Regions from separate parts of the Homo sapiens genome. Here all the other regions are linked to region 5. Evidence: promoter capture Hi-C in 16 types of primary human blood cells and fetal thymus (Javierre and others, 2016). All regions are on one chromosome and are shown on one strand. Each heading gives the region's core, a stretch centred on a gene start or on the middle of the fragment in contact. The rest is flanking DNA. Distances are from core to core; before and after follow the strand shown. Region 1 overlaps UBE2F (ubiquitin conjugating enzyme E2 F (putative)). Region 2 overlaps SCLY (selenocysteine lyase). Region 3 overlaps UBE2F (ubiquitin conjugating enzyme E2 F (putative)). Region 4 overlaps UBE2F (ubiquitin conjugating enzyme E2 F (putative)). Region 5 holds the start of RAMP1 (receptor activity modifying protein 1). Region 6 holds the start of ESPNL (espin like).

Region 1 (3,171 bases), core at 468-2,967, 180 kb before region 5:
CTGTTTGAGCTCTGGAGTTTGGGACCAGCCTGGCTAACATGGTAAAACCCCATCTCTACCAAAAATACAAAAAATTAGCTGGGAATGGTGGTGCATGCCTGTAGTCCCAGCTACTGGGGAGGCTGAGGTGGGAGGATTGCTTGAGCCCAGGAGGTGGTTGCAGTAAGCTGAGATCACACCACTGTACTCTAGCTCCAGCCTGGGTGACAGAGTGAGGCCCCATCTCAAAAAAAGAAAGTGAAAACAATCCTGAATTGGTGGTTTACATCTTCTTGTTGGAATTCTTACATAAAAAAACACAACCTGCTTGATTTGATTATTGACAAAAAGGGCGATGTTAACAGGAATAAGTGACTTATTTTGAAAATCTCTTAGGGAATAAGAAGGTTCTACTTAACAAGTGTAACTCAGAATGCACCAGTAGTGCCGTGGGTTTTACAGAAGAAACTGGAACTGATTTTTCACAGCAGTTCTTTAAATAAGCGGGGATGGGGAGTGGCAGCAGAGCAACCCCAGGAACAGCAAGTGGGGTTTGTTCACTGAAGACTGTGACAGATTTTAGTGATCACCACCGCCTGGGAGTTTGCCCACTGGGATTTTATTTTTCTTTTTTGGGGGTCTAGAATCCAGCAGAAAGGCTATTCAATCTTTCTGCTGCCATAAGAAAAAAACATGCTGGGTCTATCACCAGATGGCCTCTGAATGGGCTAGGACACTGCTGAGACTGGCCTAGCTATGAACACTGTTGTGTTCTACACCCCACAAGGTCTTTCCAGACAAGTGTGCAAGTAACTAGAGAAAGAGGAAAACATGCACAGGTGCTTTGAATCATGTAAACTGCCGAATACTAAGGTACCTGATCCTTTACAAGAATGGACATTCACAATGTTTTAGCTCCTGAGCAGCCTCTCAGGCCTCTCGTGCCTGGAGACGAGGGCAGGTGAAGACAACCCTAACCCAAGACACTGGCTCCCTGTGGTCTGTGCTCTGCAAATAAAGCTGGTGGAAACATCACAGATGACGAGTCGTGGGAGAAAAGGCGAGGGGCACAGCTGAGATCCATTTTCAATATCTGAGTAATACTCTTGCCTTGGCTCCTTAGTAGAAAGGCTGCAAAGAGATGGTCACCTGCTGGTGATTATTTAGGGGAAGATCAGAGGTAAGATGTGAGCCTTCCTCTGAGAGGCTTACCCTGGAAGTGTTTCCTTCTAGGAGTGCTTGAAAAACATACAGCTTATGCATCAAATTCTAAGCAATAGTCATAAGGACCCTCTGGAGTCCAGCCAAGAACCAGGATTCAGGAAGCAAAGGTTCTGGATGTCCAACTGGATGTCAGAGCTTCCCAAGAGCTTCACTTCCCCAAGGGCCTGCCCACTCTCACCTATTTCCAGGACTGGCCTTTTGGCCGAGTATAGGGATTCCCATTCCCTGACAGATCAGAAATCACCAACTAGTACCCGGTTGGTTGGGGGCACATGCGCTGGAGCCAGAAATGTGACTTTGGCCTGTGAAAGAGGGAGGGGAATGCTAAGAATTCAAAAAGTCTGGAAGGAAACTGGGTCCCACAGTCACCCAACAGATCCCAAGGGCCCCACTGGCCAAGCACCCAGGACAACAGCTGCTGCTTACTGCGATGGGCTGCATCTGAGTGTGCTCCTAAGATGGGGTGTGTGTGCGCAACATATCTCTGGGGGATTTCCACTAGACAGAATGGGATGATTCAGTTATCTGGACATTTTGAAAGAATTGCTTAATCCCTGATAATGAGCAAAGTGTTTTTCTACTGTGCAGATACTTTGATGTCAGAATAACTGATATTACCACTTTCAGTGTGGTCCAGAGGGCACACTGTCTTTCATGTACACTGCATAAACGTTTCCACTGGACAGCAGGCGTTTCTCCCACAGAAGCGCTCTTCTGAAAAGTCCTGCATCAACACCTGCACCACCAGCTGGGGAACTCCAGGGAGCCCGAACAACTACTATGGGATGTGCCCTGACTTGGGCCTGGGACTGGCACCAAGCAGAGAACCTCATTTCCTGGGTCAGAGGGGGCAGGAATTAGCTGCTGGCCTCCTGCCCTGCCTAGAGAGGAAGCCTAGTGCTCAGCTGGCAAGTTCCTCTGACACTAGGCAGAGGAAAAGTGTGAAGCTGCAGTACCTCCCTCTCCCAGGCCCTGAGAGGTGGGGATTAATGTGTCTCCTGGACAAGCCCTGAGCTCCTGAGATGCCATCATTCTCTTTAACCAATCTCACCCTTCCTGCTCTGTGTGGCCTGTTAGCCAGGGGCCACCCTCAAGTCTAATGGGTGCAAAGAGGAAGCAAGGCCTACATTCCTCACCTGCTGGGTCTCCGTGACAGACTGATCTCACAATCAGAGATTCTATAAATTAAGAAAAACAAACTAAACCCAGTAGATGGCAGATGGGGGAATCCAGAGGTCTAAGGAAGCTGGCAGTTAAGTTTGAGAGTGTTAGGCAGGCAGCAAATGAAACTAGACAGACATTTATTTTGTGTTTGATTTCACTGGTTCAAATGTCTACATGCTGGAGTAAATCCACTTGCCTCTCTTCAGGGCTTTTCCTCTGCAGTATATTAACCTGGCCGAGGATGGCATATGCCACTGTTGACTCCTGGTCCTCCAAGGCCTAGGAGGCTCACCCCACCGGCAGGGCCTGGAGCCATAGCAAACTCAGAAGAAGGCCACAGGTACAGTCTCAGTGACATCAGACATTGGGCTGATTCCTGAGGCATCGCTCCTGTCTCCCAGGACAGCAGGGTCTGGCTCTCTGATAAGTAGCTACCAGGTCACAATCACATGACCACTGCAAAAGCATCAACCCCAGCTGGTCCAGGCTCCAGCCAGTTTCCTCTGGGCAGCATGTTAGAATGGGCTCCCTGCCTTTTTGTTTTGATCATCCAAATCTAGCTTCAAAGGGCTCCAAAATGTGCTCACCACATCCGGACCCGAAAGCAAGAGCTGATTTTTAAGAGTGAGATTCTCATTGCATTTGGACAAAATGAATAATGTGCCTTTCATATTTTCTTTGTATTTCTCTTCAATAGTTGCTTGACCCAACATCTTTCTGTCTGCTCTATACAATGAAAATACAAACTAAATGAGAATAGAAAAAATAATTAAAGCATTGAATTGTACAAATTACAAATCTGTT
Region 2 (2,711 bases), core at 50-2,549, 220 kb before region 5:
CGGGAGGCTGAGGCAGGAGAATAGCTTGAACCTGGGAGGCGTAGGTGGCAGTGAGCCAAGATCGTGCCACTGCACTCCATAGCCTGGGCAACAGAGCGAGATTCCGTCTAAAAAAAAAAAAAAAAAGAGAATCTACAGGAGACCCATGTGTCTTGTTCAGGGATCTTGGGCTGGGCCTAGTTAACCTTCCCCAAAGGTGACTTTTCCCTTTTCCTATTATTCACATCAAAGATAAGTCTTAGATGCTGTGTGATGTTCAAGCAGTTTATTCTGGCAGTGCTCTTACAAGATAGCTAGCAGGAGCAGGCAGGTGGCAAGGGTCAGATACATTCAGGTATCAGATGACTGCCTGGCCGGGAAAGTCTCTGTCCAGAGAACATTCTCAGAGTTTTGGGGATTCTTCCCCTTTCTTATCTTGTATTTAGTCCAGGTCAGTTACCAGGTTTTTCTTCCATAAGGGAGTTAAGCTATTTTGGTAAGGGAAAGCTTTGTATTTATGGTTTATGAGAGTTCCATCTATGCTGAGGTGGTCTTACCTCCTGGAAATTCCCAAGCCAGGGTTGGAAATCCCTAGACCATGTTGCATCATACTGCTAATTGACACATAGTGTCAGCCCTGCAAGATGTTTGCATGGGCCTTACGGCTATCATTAATCTTATAGCCACAATATGTCTCTAACAGTGTATTACAACATGTCAGATTTAAAGACATAAATGGATTAAAAGTAAAAGGATGGAAAAAGATATTTATGCTAGCAGCAACCATAAGACAGTTGGAATGACTATACTTACATAAAATAAAAGGGATTTAAAAAGTTACCAGCAATATAGTTGGACATTTTATAATGATAAAAGAACCAGTTCATCCATAATATATAACAAATATAAATGTATGTGCACCTAACAATAGAGCACCAAAATACACGAAGCAAAAACTGACAGGTTTGAAGGGAGAAACTGATTAATAGTGTGATCAACTATTAATCAGACCACTGATTAATAATACTGGGATCATTCAAAATCACATTTTCAATAATGGATACAACAACTAGGCAGAATTTTAACAAGGGAACAGAAGACTTGAATAACACTACAAATTAAGTAGACCTAACAGACATCTACAAGACACTCCACCCAACAACAGCAGAATATACATTATCCTCCAGTGCACTTGACATATACTCTAGGATATATGTCTACATACATCCTAGGCCACAAAATAAAAAAAATTAAAGAATTTAAATCAAAGTATTTTCTAGCTCTTATGGAAGAAAATTAGAAATCATTAGCAGAAAGAAATCTTAGAAATTAAAAAACATATGGAAATTAAACAATACACTCTTTTTTTTTTTTTTTTAATTTATTTTTTTATTGATAATTCTTGGGTGTTTCTCACCGAGGGGGATTTGGCAGGGTCATGGGACAATAGTGGAGGGAAGGTCAGCAGATAAACAAGTGAACAAAGGTCTCTGGTTTTCCTAGGCAGAGGACCCTGCGGCCTTCCGCAGAACAATACACTCTTAAATATCTAATGGGTCATAGAAAAAAAAAACCACAAGGGAGACTAGAAAATACTTTGAGATGAATGAAAATGAAGACACAACATACTAAAACATGTGGAATGTAGTTAAAGCAGTGCTTAGAGGGAAATTTATGTCTTTAAATGCCTACATTAAAAAAGAAAAAACGTCTGGGTGTGGTGGCTCACACCTGTAATCCCAGCACTTTTGGAGGCCAAGGTGGGTGGGTCACTTGAGTTCAGGAGTTCGAGACAAGCCCAGCCAACATGGCAAAACCCCGTCTCTATTAAAAGTACAAAAATTAGCCAGATGTGGTGGTGCATGTCTGTAATCCCAGTTACTTGGGAGGTTGAGGCACAAGAACTGCTAAAATCTGGGAGGTGGAGGTTGCAGTAAGCTGAGATTGTGTCACCGTACTTCAGCCTGGGCAATAAGACTCTGTCTCAAAAAAAAAAAAAATACAAATCATAACTAATCTTCCACCTTAAGACACTGTAAAAAAAAAAAAAAAAAGGAACAAATCAAACCTAAAACAAGTAGAAAGAAAGAACCCATTTATGCCTGGTGTTCCATTATTGGAACGCTAAGCTTGTGGGAGTTATTTATATCCTACTGCTCAAGGTTATTGCCAAGGTCTGATTTTTCACACAAAAAAACTTGCAACCTCCGGCATAAATGGGTTAATAAAGGTTAGTGTAGAAGTCAATAAAATAGAGACTACAAAAATAACACAGGAAAATCAAAAGTTAGTTCTTTAAAAAGAGTTTTTAAAAAGATAAATCTTTAGCTAAATTGAACAAGACAGAGAAAAAGAATAAAATTACTAAAATCATGAATGAAAGGGATCTATAAATCTTACAGAAATAAAAAAAGATTACCAGAGACTACTATAAACAATGGTATGCCAATAAAATTAGATAACAAATGAAATGCACAAATTCCTAGAAGGACACAAACAACTGAAAATGACTCAAAAGAGATAGAGCCTGAACAAACCTATAAAAAGTAAAGAGACTGAATCAGTAACTTAAAAATTCTCCACAAAGAGAAGCCCAGGCCCAGATGTTGTCATTGGCAAACTCTATCAAATATTTAAAGATGAATTAAAACCAAGTCTTCACAAACCCTTCCAAAAAACAGAACAGGAGGGAACACTTCCCATGATTTATATGGGGCAAATTTTACCCTGAC
Region 3 (3,098 bases), core at 64-2,563, 160 kb before region 5:
CCTCCGAACACATCTCATGCCTTAAGTGACTTCTTTATCTGCTTACTGCTGGTCTCCCCAAGAGAATGTCAATTGGAGGACACAAGACTAACAGTCACCAACAAACCCTTACTGAGCACCCAACCTCTGCTGGGCATGGTTCTAGGCCTTGGGGACACAGCAGTGAACCTGACAGAATCACTGCCTCAGTGATTGCTTGATGCAGCCTTCAGAACAGAGCAGGCCTTCTAGAAACGCGGGCTGGTAGGCACGAAGGAGGAAGCCCAGGGTCTGAGCATCACCACATTGCCATCCACATGCTGTGTACCCCCACTCCCTCTTTACCCCGCCCCCCACACCCTGTAGACCCCACAGGGCAGTCCCTCTCCTCAGGTGGTACCCAGCCTGGGGTCACTAAGTGGCTGCTGGTGCCAGCAGAGGGCACTTCAGCATGAATGAGCTTGGAAAAGCCACTGGAAATAAATTATTCTCAATTTTCAAATTTGACAGAATTAGCACCATTTTAAAATTAAAATTCAACTTCCCCTAAAATATTTATCATCATGAACAAACCAGTAATATTAAATCTTATCATTTTCCTCAAATTTTTATATGAAATGAATGCATAACAGCAAGTTGTTAGCCTCAAACAAGTCATCATTAAAAAAAAATTCCATTCCTTAAGAGTTGAGACCGTATCAACATTTATGTCATCTAGTAGTTAAAACTGGCATTACCTGGACCCTAACATTTTTTTTCTTTGCCAATTTGATAGAAGAGAAATACCAGTTCTCTTTTATTTTACATTCTCTGATGAATACTAGTGAGGCTAAAATTTATATGATTATTGGTCATTTAGGTTTTTCTTTTAAGAACTGAATGATCAATGTTCTGAAACTCTCCTTTTATTACTGAGGTATTCATCTTTTAATTACCAATACAAAAATCTCTTAATTAGCCTTTGCTTTTTAAATAGGCTACAAGCAATTTTTCTTAGTCTGCTGTTTGCATTTTGATTTTGTGGTTTCTGAACACTAGTTTTCCATTTTTAAGAAGCTAATCTTTCTTTAGGGTTTCTGTCTTTGGGGTCATGCTTAGAAAAGGCCTTTCCCAACCAAGATTATATCAATATCCTCTTATATTTTCTTCTAGTAATTTAATGGTTTCATAGATTACATTTAATCAGCTCATTCATTCATCAACTGATTGCAGACTAAGGTCGTATTTTTTTTCCTAACTGGTTGCTTAATCACCCCAACGGCGTTTATTATTCTAGCCTTCCTCCACTTACTTGAGATGCGTATTTCTAGTTTTTATAAATACACTTGGATTTCTGACTGGCAGTATAAAGTCTCTGGCAAAGATACTTGTTTGGGGAAATTTTTAACTCCAGATATAAGAACTTTTCAAATAAGTGGCATCTTAGATATAAAATACTCAGAGTACATATCCTTGTTCATCAAAGCATGTGTGGATGTTGGTGTCTTACATGTATTGTGATATTGACCACTGTGGCACAACACAGAAATCCAATGCCAGGCTTAACATTACAAACCACGCAGTCCACTCTGTGAACTGTTACACAGCTTTTGGATGATGCTGCTTCACCCGCGCTGTCCTTTTCCTTTCCCTTAGGAATGATTACTACCCATGCGAGACACCCTGGTCGTGGCTGTGCTCTGGCCATTCCATCCTGCCATGCTATATTTTTTCTCTAGTTGGCTTTCCAGTTCATGGATTACAGAGTTTCAACTCTATTGCCTACCACTTTCAAAGATGTTATTTGGTCTAATATGATTATCACTTCACCTTATTCCCTCTGCTCCAGTCAAGTTCTTCCTTAATAATTATTAGGATTATATCTTCTCTTAACTCATTAAAAAGTGAGAACAGACTGTTTTATTTTTTTCTCTTTCATGAAACAAATCTCTCTCAGGAAAATGATCTGCTCCTGCATCAGTACTTCTTTTTCCCTCTTTGAAGTTGCACAGTTTTTAGACCTGATCCAAATCTGCTTATTTATTATTGTTAATTTGCCCAGAAATTCCACAGTCCAACTTAAAAAGCAGCTTGGGAGCAGACTGGACTGAGATGAAACCCAAGAGCATCTCTTATTTACAAGGTTTCCTTCACGATGTCCCCAGCTTAAGAGTTCAGATTCACCTTCTACACCTGGCTCTGGGAGTACCTGGCCCAAGGCGGAGACGGTTCAAGGAAGGCCTGCTCACTTCCACAGCCGGCAGGTAGTGGACTCATTGAGAATGTCTGTAACTACACGTGCACCGTGGCCCACAGCACAGTACACAAGTCCAGGACAGGCCAATTCTATGTTACTATCGTCCATGGCTGCTGGGACTGAAAACACATTTCTCAGACAACTAGGTTTTAAAATACAATAATGAAATGCAACTGAGGGAAGTTCCTGGCACTCAGCTCTCAATCAGCCAGCCTGGCCCCTGCCCCACTGTTACAATTAGAGGAATTATCCTCCTCTTTCCTTGTGCTTTAGAGCCCACTCCTCACTACCTTTGAGGAACCATACTCCAGTGTCTTCAAGATTACCGAGAGCCCTGGGAAAACAAACCTTTTGAAGGGGTATGTCGCCTCAAATCACTGTGACAGAATCCATTTCTAGATTCTAGATGGCCGACATCCACATATGCTCTGTCTGGTAACAAATCTGTGGACAACGCCCTTGAGGCCAAGGAGTCATGCCAGCTCTCTGTCCCACCTCCTCTTCTACAACCTTCTTCCCCCCTGCAAAAAAAGGCCTACCTCCCATCTCCCCCTGTACTAGAATGAACTGTCTCAAGGAGTGGACATTCCCAGGGGACAAAAGTACCCGTGACGCACTGATAAGGGTAAAGCCACCTCAAAGCGACACATTAAGGTAGGGTTGTGCTTTTCCCTATATTTGCTTTTTCCCCCACCACTGTGTCTCCATTCGCTTTTCCCTATCTATAACCATTTCTTTCTTTCTTTTTTTAAATTATTTATTTATTTTTGAGACAGAGTCTCATTCAATTGCTCAGGCTGGGGTGCACAGCTCACTGCAGCCTCGAACTCCAGGGCTCAGGTGATCCTCCCACCTCAACCACCCAAGTAGCTGGGACTACAGG
Region 4 (3,150 bases), core at 338-2,837, 130 kb before region 5:
AAACAGCACATCAGGAAGGTCTGGCAGTGAGCAGCAGTCCATATGTTGACGCTAACCTTTGAACACGTGTAAAGTTAGCGGTGCTACAGGGATTCGTATGGTTTATGGAAAGTTGGTAGATCTCCCTCCCTATTTGTCTGATAATAATCGTGCCAATACTCTAAAATTGCAAACCAGTGGTTTTTGTCATGTGCTTTTCTCCTTACAGTGTTTTACTAGTTAATTCCAAATAGAGATGTTTTCCTTCAACCTTTAAGTGGTCACTAAACCATTTATTTCAAGAATTATGCTACTGTACTTTGACAAGAAGAAACCATATCTCAGGGAGATTAATACATGCAGGCAAAGGCTAACTAAACACGAAAAAACCAGGAAAGAGCCCAGGTCAACTCTGTTGCCCTAGCACCACAGACATTCAGTCACCATGGTAAATGGAAGTTCTTTATAAAGAAGGGTGCTGGCCAGGCATGGTGGCTTACGCCTGTAATCCCAGCTACTTGGGAGGCTGAGGCAGGAGAATCACTTGAACCCAGGAGATGGAGGTTGCAGTGAGCCAAGATCGCGCCATTGCACTCCAGCTTGGGCAACAAGAGTGAAACTCTGCCTCAAAAAAAAAAAAAAAAAAGAAGAAGAAGAAGAAGAAGAGTGCGCCCAGGACTTAGCTCCCACCCAGCCAGAGTTTACCATAATCTTTTGTCTTTTTAAAAAATACCTTTACTACCTAAGTGGTAAATCAGCTTGCTTTATTGGTAAAATAATGCTCTACTGACCCAGATGGCAATGTTCTGTGCCCACTGGTCCAAATCATAAGAGGCCTGAATCAGGACAAAGTGTTCCCCTGGGAGAGAAGCTACTGGCTGCTGGTGCAGGCCAGGGAAGTTGATTGCATCCCACCCATCTCCTTCAAACAAATGACACACAGCTAATTACCCATAGGAAAAATACCCAAGGAATCTGGAAGGAATATATATAGAAATTTTCTACATCTATAAAATCAGAAAATACTATGCTAAACTTTTTTTTAGACAGGGTCTCACTCTGTTGCCTGGACTGGAGGACAGTGGCATGATTCCAGCTCACCGCAACCTCTGCCTCCAAGGCTCAGGTGATCCTCCCACCTCAGCCTCCTGAGTAGCAGGGACTACAGGTGCACACCACCACACCTGGCTAATTTTTGTATCTTTTGTAGAGACAGGTTTTCGCCATGTTACCCAGGCTAGTCTTGAACTCCCATGCTCAAGTGATCCACTCACCTTGGCCTCTGAAAGTGCTAGGATTACAGGCATGGGCCACCACACCAGGCCTATGCTAAACTTCTCAGTTCACCACTGGTGGTGAACTAAACATGGAAAAACCAGGAAAAACCCAGGTCAAATTTCTACTCTGTTCTCTTAGCACCACAGACATCCACAGTCACCACGGCAAATGGAAGTTAAAAAGAAGAGTGCTGGCCAGGCATGGTGGATCATGTCTGTAATCCCAGAACTTTGGGAGGCCAAGGCAGGCGGTTCACGAGGTCAGTAGTTTGAGACCAGCCTGGCCAACGTGGTGAAACCCCGTCTCTACTAAAAATACAAAAATTAGCTGGGCAAGGTGGCGGGCGCCTGTAGTCCCAGCTACTTGGGAGGCTGAGGCAGGAGAATTGCCTGAACCTGGGAGGCAGAGGTTGCAGTGAGCTGAGATCACGCCACTGCCCTCCAGCCTGGGCAACAAAGCGAGACTCCATCTGAAAAAAAAAAAGAGTGCTGCCCAGGAGTTAGCTCCCACCCAGAATTTACTATGATATTTTGTCTTTTTAAGTTTTTAAAGTTTTTTTAGAAGACTTTTTAAAAATTTGTTTAAAGTTTTCTTACAAGTTCCACCAAAAGTATTTGCTTAGTTTGACAATGATAAAAATTTTTATCGAAAACAGGACAATTCAAATTTCTACTCAGAGGTGACCTTAGAGACGATCTAGTCCAACGTCCTCAATTAGGAGACATAAGTAGAAGGTCTAGAGAGGCTTGGTGACTAGCCCAAGATCATACAGGTTATCAACAGAAGCAAGGTTAATTCCTACATTAATAACTAGTTCATGACTCCTTCCCCTACCTCATGCCTCATTTCCTTTCAGTACTTAATGACCATGTTAAGACATGGGACACCTGTATATACAAGCAGCAAATAACACAGGACTGATAGTGGGGTTTCCTTTCCAGAGTGAAAACTGTCTAGAAAAGCAAGAAGCAGTCTTAGAGATGACAATGTCACAGTCCTTACTTGAGAAATAAACAAACTGGAGCCAAAGAGTTCAAGACTTTCCCCAAAATTACACATTTAGAACTATGTGTGAAATACTTAAAATGGGCTTTATTCTTCCTAATCTTAACTTGCAAAGATAAATGCCATCCTTCTAGTGAGTTCTAAGTAACAAAAACATATAATTCTGACTTGGGAAATGTTTCAATGATTCACTGAAGTTGGCATCATGTATTTGTTTTTAATATCTGGCATTCTCTTTTGTTTTAATAGACAGATGCGGAAATCAATAGCTCCAAAAAGCTGGCCCATCAAGAATAAAGAAATTATCGGCCGGTCGCAGTGGCTCATGCCTGTAATCCTAGCACTTTGGGAGGCCAAGGCAGGTGGATCACCAGAGGTTAGGAGTTCAAGACTAGCCTGGCCAACATGGTAAAACCCCCTCTCTACTAAAAATACAAAAAATTAGCCGGATGTAATGGCGCATGCCTGTAATCCCAGCTGAGGGGGAGGCTGAGGCAGGAGAACTGCTTGAACCCGGGGGCAGAGGTTGCAGAGAGCTGAGATCGTGCCACTTCACTTCAGCCTGGGTGAAAGAACGTGACTCTGTCTCAAAAAAAAAAAAAGAAATTATCAAAGTGGATTACAAAGCAATAAAACTATGCCAGGCGCAGCGGCTCACGCCTGTAATCCTGGCAAAACCCCATCTCCACTAAAAATACAAAAATTGGCTAGGCGTGGTGGCGGGCACCTGTAATCCCAGCTACTCAGGAGGCTGAGGCAGGAAAGTCACTTGAATCCAGGAAGTGGAGGTCGCAGTGAGCCGAGATCGCGCCACTGCATTCCAGCCTGGGTGACAGAGCAAGACTGTCTCAAAAAAAAAAAAAGAAAGAAAGAAAAGAAAAGAAAGGT
Region 5 (2,918 bases), core at 357-2,856:
ATAGTTTTCTCGGTAAACAAGGAAGGTCTTTATATGTGATCGTGACATAGTGTTTTATTTACACAAGCTTTAGAGGGTTCAGCCTCTGGACACTAGTAAAGAACGTTTATTTATTTGGTTATTTATGTAAAAAATATTCCACAACCCAGCTCTCTGCCTTGCTAACAAAGAAATGTTTGTTTCTTAGTAAATGAAAACAGTGAAGGCCATGTCAAGCCAAATGGAGAGAATAAAATTACTGCGAGATTCTGCTTTCCACGTAACTTCAGCCAAAACTCTAAAGTGGCAAGATCCGCTTTCAGATTATATTATATCGGCCTCTGAGGATTCTATGCAGATCTGCCACCCCTTGGAGAGGTTTACAAATAGGGAACAGAAATCCATGGCTCCCAAGAAGCCCTGGCCCCTCTCCTCGCTGGGCCACGAACCACTCCCCCAGCTACAACAGCGCCGGTGGTCCCTGCTTGCCCAGTGCCAGCGCCAAAGAGGTCTTGTGCGGCAGGTGCCTCTGACCAACATCACTGTTTCCGGGGAAAGGCCACACATACCAGAAACAACTGCTCCGGCCTTCCCAGGGACACTGGGTTCTCCCACGCCAGTAACCTATTCACAGTTTCCGTTAAAAGGTAGCTAAATACACGGAATAATGCAATAGCCAAAGCGGTTTAGAAGGGGCTTGAGTTAGCATTTTAGGAACACATTACAGACAAGGGAAGTGAACAGCACCGTTTCTTGCCGAGTGTGTGGCCAGTTCCTGTGGCCATGAGGCTGCCGCTAATCTCCACTTCTCCCTCCAAGTGGAAAGCCAAACGTGTTCCACCACTTCACCAAGGGACCCGTCCTTCTTTAAATTTCTATTAGCCAAAAGTGCCAAGTTAACAAGCAAACCAAAAGAAAAAAGAAAAAAAGCGATGGAAGTGTCCCGAAAAGGGCTGGCCTCATTTCTGCAAAAGACGTGATTTGCAAACAAGCAACTGCTGCAGGCGACAGATTGTCAGTGTTGACTAATTTCCATACAAACCGGCTGTGGTTCTGATTCCCGAACACTGCGTCTTCTGCAAGGTGCCCGTCTGCAGGTTTTGCAACGCGGGACGGCCTAGGGAAGGGAGCCTGCGCTGGCAGTCACCGCGGCGCACAGCCTGAGAAACGAGGTGCGGGGCTGGGGAACCCCGCGTCCTGTTTTTCCTTCTGAAAACTAGTTCTCCAGTGTGCAGGGCTGACTCACCCCACGCTTTCCAGAATGCCCGCTCTCCGACGTCCCCAAAGCCGTCCCTTCCCCGGCGAGAAGCGCAACACCGGTCCGCGCCCTCCGCCTCCCCTGTGCCCTGGGGCCTCCCGCCTGGAACCGGGGCGGCCCGCGTTCAAGGGCAGCGGATCTGTGCGCCCGCGGCGCCCGCCCCCACCCGCTCCCACCCGCTCCCACCCGCTCCCCTCCTCTCCCCTAGAGGACACCGGCTGGCCAGGGGAAGGGAGCTCGGCCGGGACCCCTGGACCTACTCACCCAGGAGCAGCCAGAGGCCGCGCCGCGGGAGGCGGCACAGGGCCCGGGCCATGGTGCACAGCGGTGCCGAGTCGAGTCCGCTCGCCACGCGCCCCGCTGAGGACTGAGCCCGCCGCGGCGCGGGCCCGGAGGAGACGCGCCGGGGGCGGGAGCGGGCGCGGGAGCGGTGGGAGGCGGCGGCCGCGCGGCCCGGCCCACTGCGGCTCCCCGCGTGGGTGCCAGGGCCGGGGGCGCCCAGGGCCGGTAAAACTTTGCAGGGGGGCCGCGCGGGCGTCTCCAGGCCCCTCCCGGGGGGCGGCACACTTGGGGTCCCAGGAAGGCCTCCTGAAATGTTCTCCGAGCAAATAAACACTTTTTAAACTAGGGAGGGTCTCCTAGACGACTCAGCGTGAGGGGCACCTTGGTCTCCACCTGGGGATCTTCCCCTCCTCCTCCTCCGAGGTTCTGGGCGTTCCTGCCTGGTGTTTGCCTTGCAAAAGGCTAAGATCTCCCAGCCTTATCTACCTCTCCGCCCAGGTGCAGGCGCTGGGGAGCGTGGGGGGCAAAACTCGCCACCGCGCCTGGCGAGACCCGTAGTAACCCAAAATGGCGCACACTTACCAGGCCCTGGAATGCTGCTCCAGATCTGCAGGATGAGTGGGTGGGCAGAGGCGGGGACAGCACGGCAGGTGAACAGAAGCCGTGGGGCTGGAGGAACAGGGCTCTTTGGGGGGATTGAGATGGCCTGGGAGTCTTGCTGTTGATGGGTAGGTAGCGAGAGCCTGGCAGGAGGTTGTGAGGGCCTGGCCACAGAGTCTTGAGATGAGGTTTGCTTTGGTGGCACTCTGGCAGCTGCATGGAAAACTGATGGGGGATCTTGGGTACATTCGTTTATGTAAAGTGGTGAGAGGAGGGCGCTCTGGAGATGGGCCGGGGAAGCCTGCGGAGGAGCAGGTTTTGGGAGGCACAGGCCTGGCCTCTCGGCATTACTGGTGGCTGGATTTCACTTGCAGTGGTTCCTTCTTGTATTATCCTGTTCCGAGAACTCTTAGCAACAGTAAATTTATACTTGTGCTAAGGAATGCACCACTGCCCTTGGAGGGGGAAGAATCACCACCCTGGTGCTGCGGCCACAGCTGTCTCTTTTGTGGTGGAAGCTGCAAGCGCACAGCATTGCTGAGTGACCATCGTTTTCTCCTAGGAAAGGGAACAGTCTGTGGCTGAGAGGCTGCTGCCACCTGCAGTAAGCTCAGAGAAGGGGAGACAGCTGACAGCGAGGTCATCCACTGGTTCTTCTAACACAGGCTGGGAGGGCACTCAGGGCCAGCATGCCTACCACCTGTGCAGGGGCCCCAAGTGTTCTGAGAGTGAGGGGTGAGATGGTGGGGGAGGGCACACATTCTCTTGACTTGATTAGCCCTTGTTCTTGAACCCTAGG
Region 6 (2,999 bases), core at 44-2,543, 240 kb before region 5:
CCTGCCCACTCTGCTCATGGTCAGAAAGGCTTCCCAGGACACCTACCTCTGGCTGGTCCCCTGCCCCAGTGCCCTCCCGCTGGCCACAGGGTCCCGGGGCCAGGGAGCGTTCCTACCACAGGTGTCAGGGGTCCAGCAGACCTGGGCCTTCTCCAAGGGCCCTGTCAGAATGGATCCCCAGGCAGGCACAGCTCCCGCCTGCTGCCCTTGGGTTTGGCGGAAGGGCCGACAGGAACAGGATGCTGGGCCGGGACTCTCAGGTGCTCTGGCGAGCCAGGTGCTGGGGAACCTTCCCGCTCCGCAGTCTAAGCAGGCCCCACCGGCCCCCACCTCAACTCTGACCTCTGGGCGGCGGCGTTCTAAGGCCGGTCAGTCCTGCTCACCCTCAGCCCTGAAAGCTCCACAGGGCTGAGCGACAGCTCTAAGGGCCTCGCCTGCACAAAGGGGACTGGGCAGGCAGGATAGGGGAGGGGGGCCCAGTAGAAACGATCCGGACAAGACGATCACCATCAGCAGCCCTAACTCCCGTCCCCCAGGGCTAGGCTCCCAGCTCTCAAGCCCAAGTTCCCACAGTGCTTCTGTAAGGATCCCTTTCTAGACCCTTTGGGAGGCAGGCCCTGTGGACCAGGCCTGATCAGAGACAGGGGTCCTGATATCTGGCAAGACCCCCACTGGCAACGCCCAGCTTCCTGGCAGGGAAGGTGATAAGAAAATTTAGGAGGTGTTCTTGGCTCTCAAGCCTTTGTGCTCTGAGAGGCGTGGGGCAGAGACGGTAACCACTGACTGAGTCCCCAAGAGAAACAAAGGGCCCAGGGCCATGGAGCCCGGGGTGGCCAGTACTCTGATCCTCCGTGGCTCACACCTCCCTGGTTCCACCCCAGCCAGCTTCGTGGAGCCAGGCTGCCCCATCCCCGCTCACCTGCAGACCGCAGCCCCCCTCGCGGACCAGCCAGCACAGCTCGGCCAGGCTGCCCGTGGCAGCGGCGTCATGCGCTGGGGTGGCCCCGTTGTGGGCCCGCTGGTTGCCGGGCAGCTGGGCCCGCTGCACCAAGAACTTGACGCAGTCCAGGTGGCCAGCCCGGGTGGCGTGGTGAACCAGGCCGGCCCCCAGAGCATCGGTGATGCCCGGGCCCAGGGCGCCAGCCTCCAGCAGCCGCTCCAACGTCGCCACATCCCCATCCTTGGCGGCCACGAGTGCCCGCTGCTTCTCCATCCTCTGGCCCGGGCTCTCAGTGGCGACTCATGCACAGGCTGGGGCTTCCTGTTTCAGACGTGGATGAAGCTGCCGGCTCTGGTTACCCGATAAGCTGCCACAGGGCAGATGGGAGGCGGTGGGGTGGGGTCGGGTGGGGGGACAGGCCTTGAGGACCTGCCCAAGCCACTCCCACAGTGTGAGGGTGCCAGGTGCCTGGAGCTGGGAGGATGGAGTACAGGGCACAGGGAAAGGCCCACACCAGGCTAGGTCAGGGCTGGGTATGGCCAGCAGAGAAAGGAGGCTGGCCCTGAGGCTGCTCAGATCTGTCCAGATGGCAGGAACTTCATCTGTGGAGCGAGGGCTGAGGATACACGCCACTGAGCTTCTCACAGGAGCCCCGAGTGGCCTGGGAGACAGTTCCCCCAACTCTCACAGAAGGGCAGACCCCCAGCCGCCACCACAGTGTGTCTGAAGTAAAGGGTGCCCAGTAGGTCTACATGTTTGGCTGTGTTGACACCCACAGAGCTGAGCGCCCCGCCTCTGGGTCCCGGCCCTCGGCCCTGGAGGCTCCTAGGAATCTCTGGGGACACAGTGGCTCCACGGGGCCTGCAATGGGCTCAGGACCCTGACTTGGGTGTGTCCAGGCCTCTGAGGCGAGAAGGTGTCAGCCCCTGCCTCGGCCCCCTCTCCAACTACACGGACCAAGTCTCTGGGCTGCAGCCCCAAGGGCCCAAGTACATTTAACCCCTTTCCAGATTGTTCTGGACAATCCATAGTTCTTCTTTAGGGAAGTCAGGACCACCACAGCCTCTTCCTGGCAGCAATGGGAAGCTGCAGATGGGGGACCCATTACATTTGTAGGGGCTTCCGGAGACACAGCCTCAAGCTGGATTTCTGGGCTAACGCATCATCACACAATGGTGACCTGGGGGCTGCTGCACCCCTGGCTTCCCCCCGACAGGCTCTGTCAGATGACTTTGTGCCCAAGCGCAGTGCCCACTAGAGAAACCACAGGATCCCCAAGTCGGGCACTGAAATCTTTTATTCGTTAATTTAGTTTCTGGCAAGTGTTTCCTCAAAATCATCAAGTAGTTCCTTGAACCGTAAAACCACACATTAAAAATGTTATTCCACTGAAAATGACTCCTATGCAAATATCGACATGTGATGTGTGTCCAAATGCCAGAGCATTTTGAGAAAAGAATCCTCTGCAAATAAAATTAAGGTAAAAGCTGAGTCAGGGATGATCCGATTCCCACCCCAGGAATGACCTGGAGCTGCACCAACTCAGCGAGGTTGGAGCTGAAACCCTGAGTTAATAATGATCAAAAGGGACAAGACAGGAAGGCCTGGGGACCGTGGACAGGGAAGTGCGCAGCCCTGATTGCCAGTGGGCGGAACAGGGTCAGGCTCGGGGAAGCAGGAGGGGTGGTGGGCGGTGGGCGCTGAGCAGAGCAGGCCTGGCCGAGGCTGGGGGCCACTGTGCACTGAGGCCAGAGGAGCAGGGTGGTGGGGGCAGCTTTGGAAAGGGACTAAAAAGGGCCTGAGAAGAGACCACTCTGGAAAGGTGCATGTAGAGGCCATGATCAAAACAAAAAAATCAAGTTTCCTACGTTCATGATAGCATTTGGCTGACAATGAGTTATAAATACTTGGATTCTATCTTCCAGATAAAAACACCTTCCAGGAAAGGGCACTCACAACAGGCGTGCCCAGTTCCCAGTGGGGAGGGTGGATAAAGCTAAGTGTTTCCGCTTCACCACTGGAGGACGGTTCTATGTGGGCGGTCCCATGTGGGCGGTCC

Evidence for each region. Contacts are between HindIII fragments. The CHiCAGO score rates a contact against its expected background, and 5 or more counts as called.
Region 1: a contact is called between a fragment that was not itself captured here and the fragment with the promoter of RAMP1 in region 5, in 3 of 17 cell types (megakaryocytes, M0 macrophages and M1 macrophages). The highest score is 6.5, in megakaryocytes.
Region 2: a fragment that was not itself captured here is called in contact with the fragment with the promoter of RAMP1 in region 5 in 5 of 17 cell types (megakaryocytes, endothelial precursors, erythroblasts and 2 more); the score reaches 8.6 in megakaryocytes.
Region 3: a contact is called between a fragment that was not itself captured here and the fragment with the promoter of RAMP1 in region 5, in 9 of 17 cell types (megakaryocytes, M2 macrophages, M0 macrophages and 6 more). The highest score is 21.0, in megakaryocytes.
Region 4: a contact is called between a fragment that was not itself captured here and the fragment with the promoter of RAMP1 in region 5, in 4 of 17 cell types (megakaryocytes, M1 macrophages, M2 macrophages and 1 more). The highest score is 10.3, in megakaryocytes.
Region 6: the fragment with the promoter of ESPNL here is called in contact with the fragment with the promoter of RAMP1 in region 5 in 10 of 17 cell types (megakaryocytes, endothelial precursors, M0 macrophages and 7 more); the score reaches 17.1 in megakaryocytes.

The regions. Positions count from the first base shown.
Region 1 is chr2:238,041,912-238,045,082 of GRCh38, reverse strand. UBE2F (ubiquitin conjugating enzyme E2 F (putative)) reads right to left here. Exons shown (of 10, transcript NM_080678.3): 10 at 2,301-3,171. All of the region lies in intron 7 of UBE2F-SCLY (UBE2F-SCLY readthrough (NMD candidate)), which reads right to left. Among named protein-coding and RNA genes, the nearest start is that of SCLY, 18 kb to the left of the region's middle. RefSeq lists a silencer at 2,183-2,375. The HindIII fragment of the contact is 6,960 bases long and covers 1-3,171 here.
Region 2 is chr2:238,075,369-238,078,079 of GRCh38, reverse strand. All of the region lies in intron 4 of SCLY (selenocysteine lyase), which reads right to left. All of the region lies in intron 11 of UBE2F-SCLY (UBE2F-SCLY readthrough (NMD candidate)), which reads right to left. Among named protein-coding and RNA genes, the nearest start is that of SCLY, 16 kb to the right of the region's middle. The HindIII fragment of the contact is 1,622 bases long and covers 489-2,110 here.
Region 3 is chr2:238,013,144-238,016,241 of GRCh38, reverse strand. The region is part of intron 4 of UBE2F (ubiquitin conjugating enzyme E2 F (putative)); the gene reads right to left. The region is part of intron 4 of UBE2F-SCLY (UBE2F-SCLY readthrough (NMD candidate)); the gene reads right to left. Among named protein-coding and RNA genes, the nearest start is that of SCLY, 46 kb to the left of the region's middle. The HindIII fragment of the contact is 4,730 bases long and covers 1-3,098 here.
Region 4 is chr2:237,991,585-237,994,734 of GRCh38, reverse strand. The region is part of intron 3 of UBE2F (ubiquitin conjugating enzyme E2 F (putative)); the gene reads right to left. The region is part of intron 3 of UBE2F-SCLY (UBE2F-SCLY readthrough (NMD candidate)); the gene reads right to left. Among named protein-coding and RNA genes, the nearest start is that of UBE2F, 26 kb to the right of the region's middle. The HindIII fragment of the contact is 3,258 bases long and covers 1-3,150 here.
Region 5 is chr2:237,858,311-237,861,228 of GRCh38, reverse strand. It overlaps RAMP1 (receptor activity modifying protein 1), which reads right to left and starts at 1,606. Exons shown (of 3, transcript NM_005855.4): 1 at 1,502-1,606. The coding sequence starts at 1,553. RefSeq lists an enhancer at 2,219-2,918. The HindIII fragment of the contact is 3,458 bases long and covers 70-2,918 here.
Region 6 is chr2:238,098,634-238,101,632 of GRCh38, reverse strand. It overlaps ESPNL (espin like), which reads right to left and starts at 1,293. Exons shown (of 9, transcript NM_194312.4): 1 at 920-1,293. The coding sequence starts at 1,213. It overlaps SCLY (selenocysteine lyase), which reads right to left. Exons shown (of 12, transcript NM_016510.7): 12 at 2,220-2,999. UBE2F-SCLY (UBE2F-SCLY readthrough (NMD candidate)) reads right to left here. Exons shown (of 19, transcript NR_037904.1): 19 at 2,220-2,999. RefSeq lists enhancers at 2,851-2,999, 2,780-2,999. The HindIII fragment of the contact is 15,429 bases long and covers 1-2,999 here.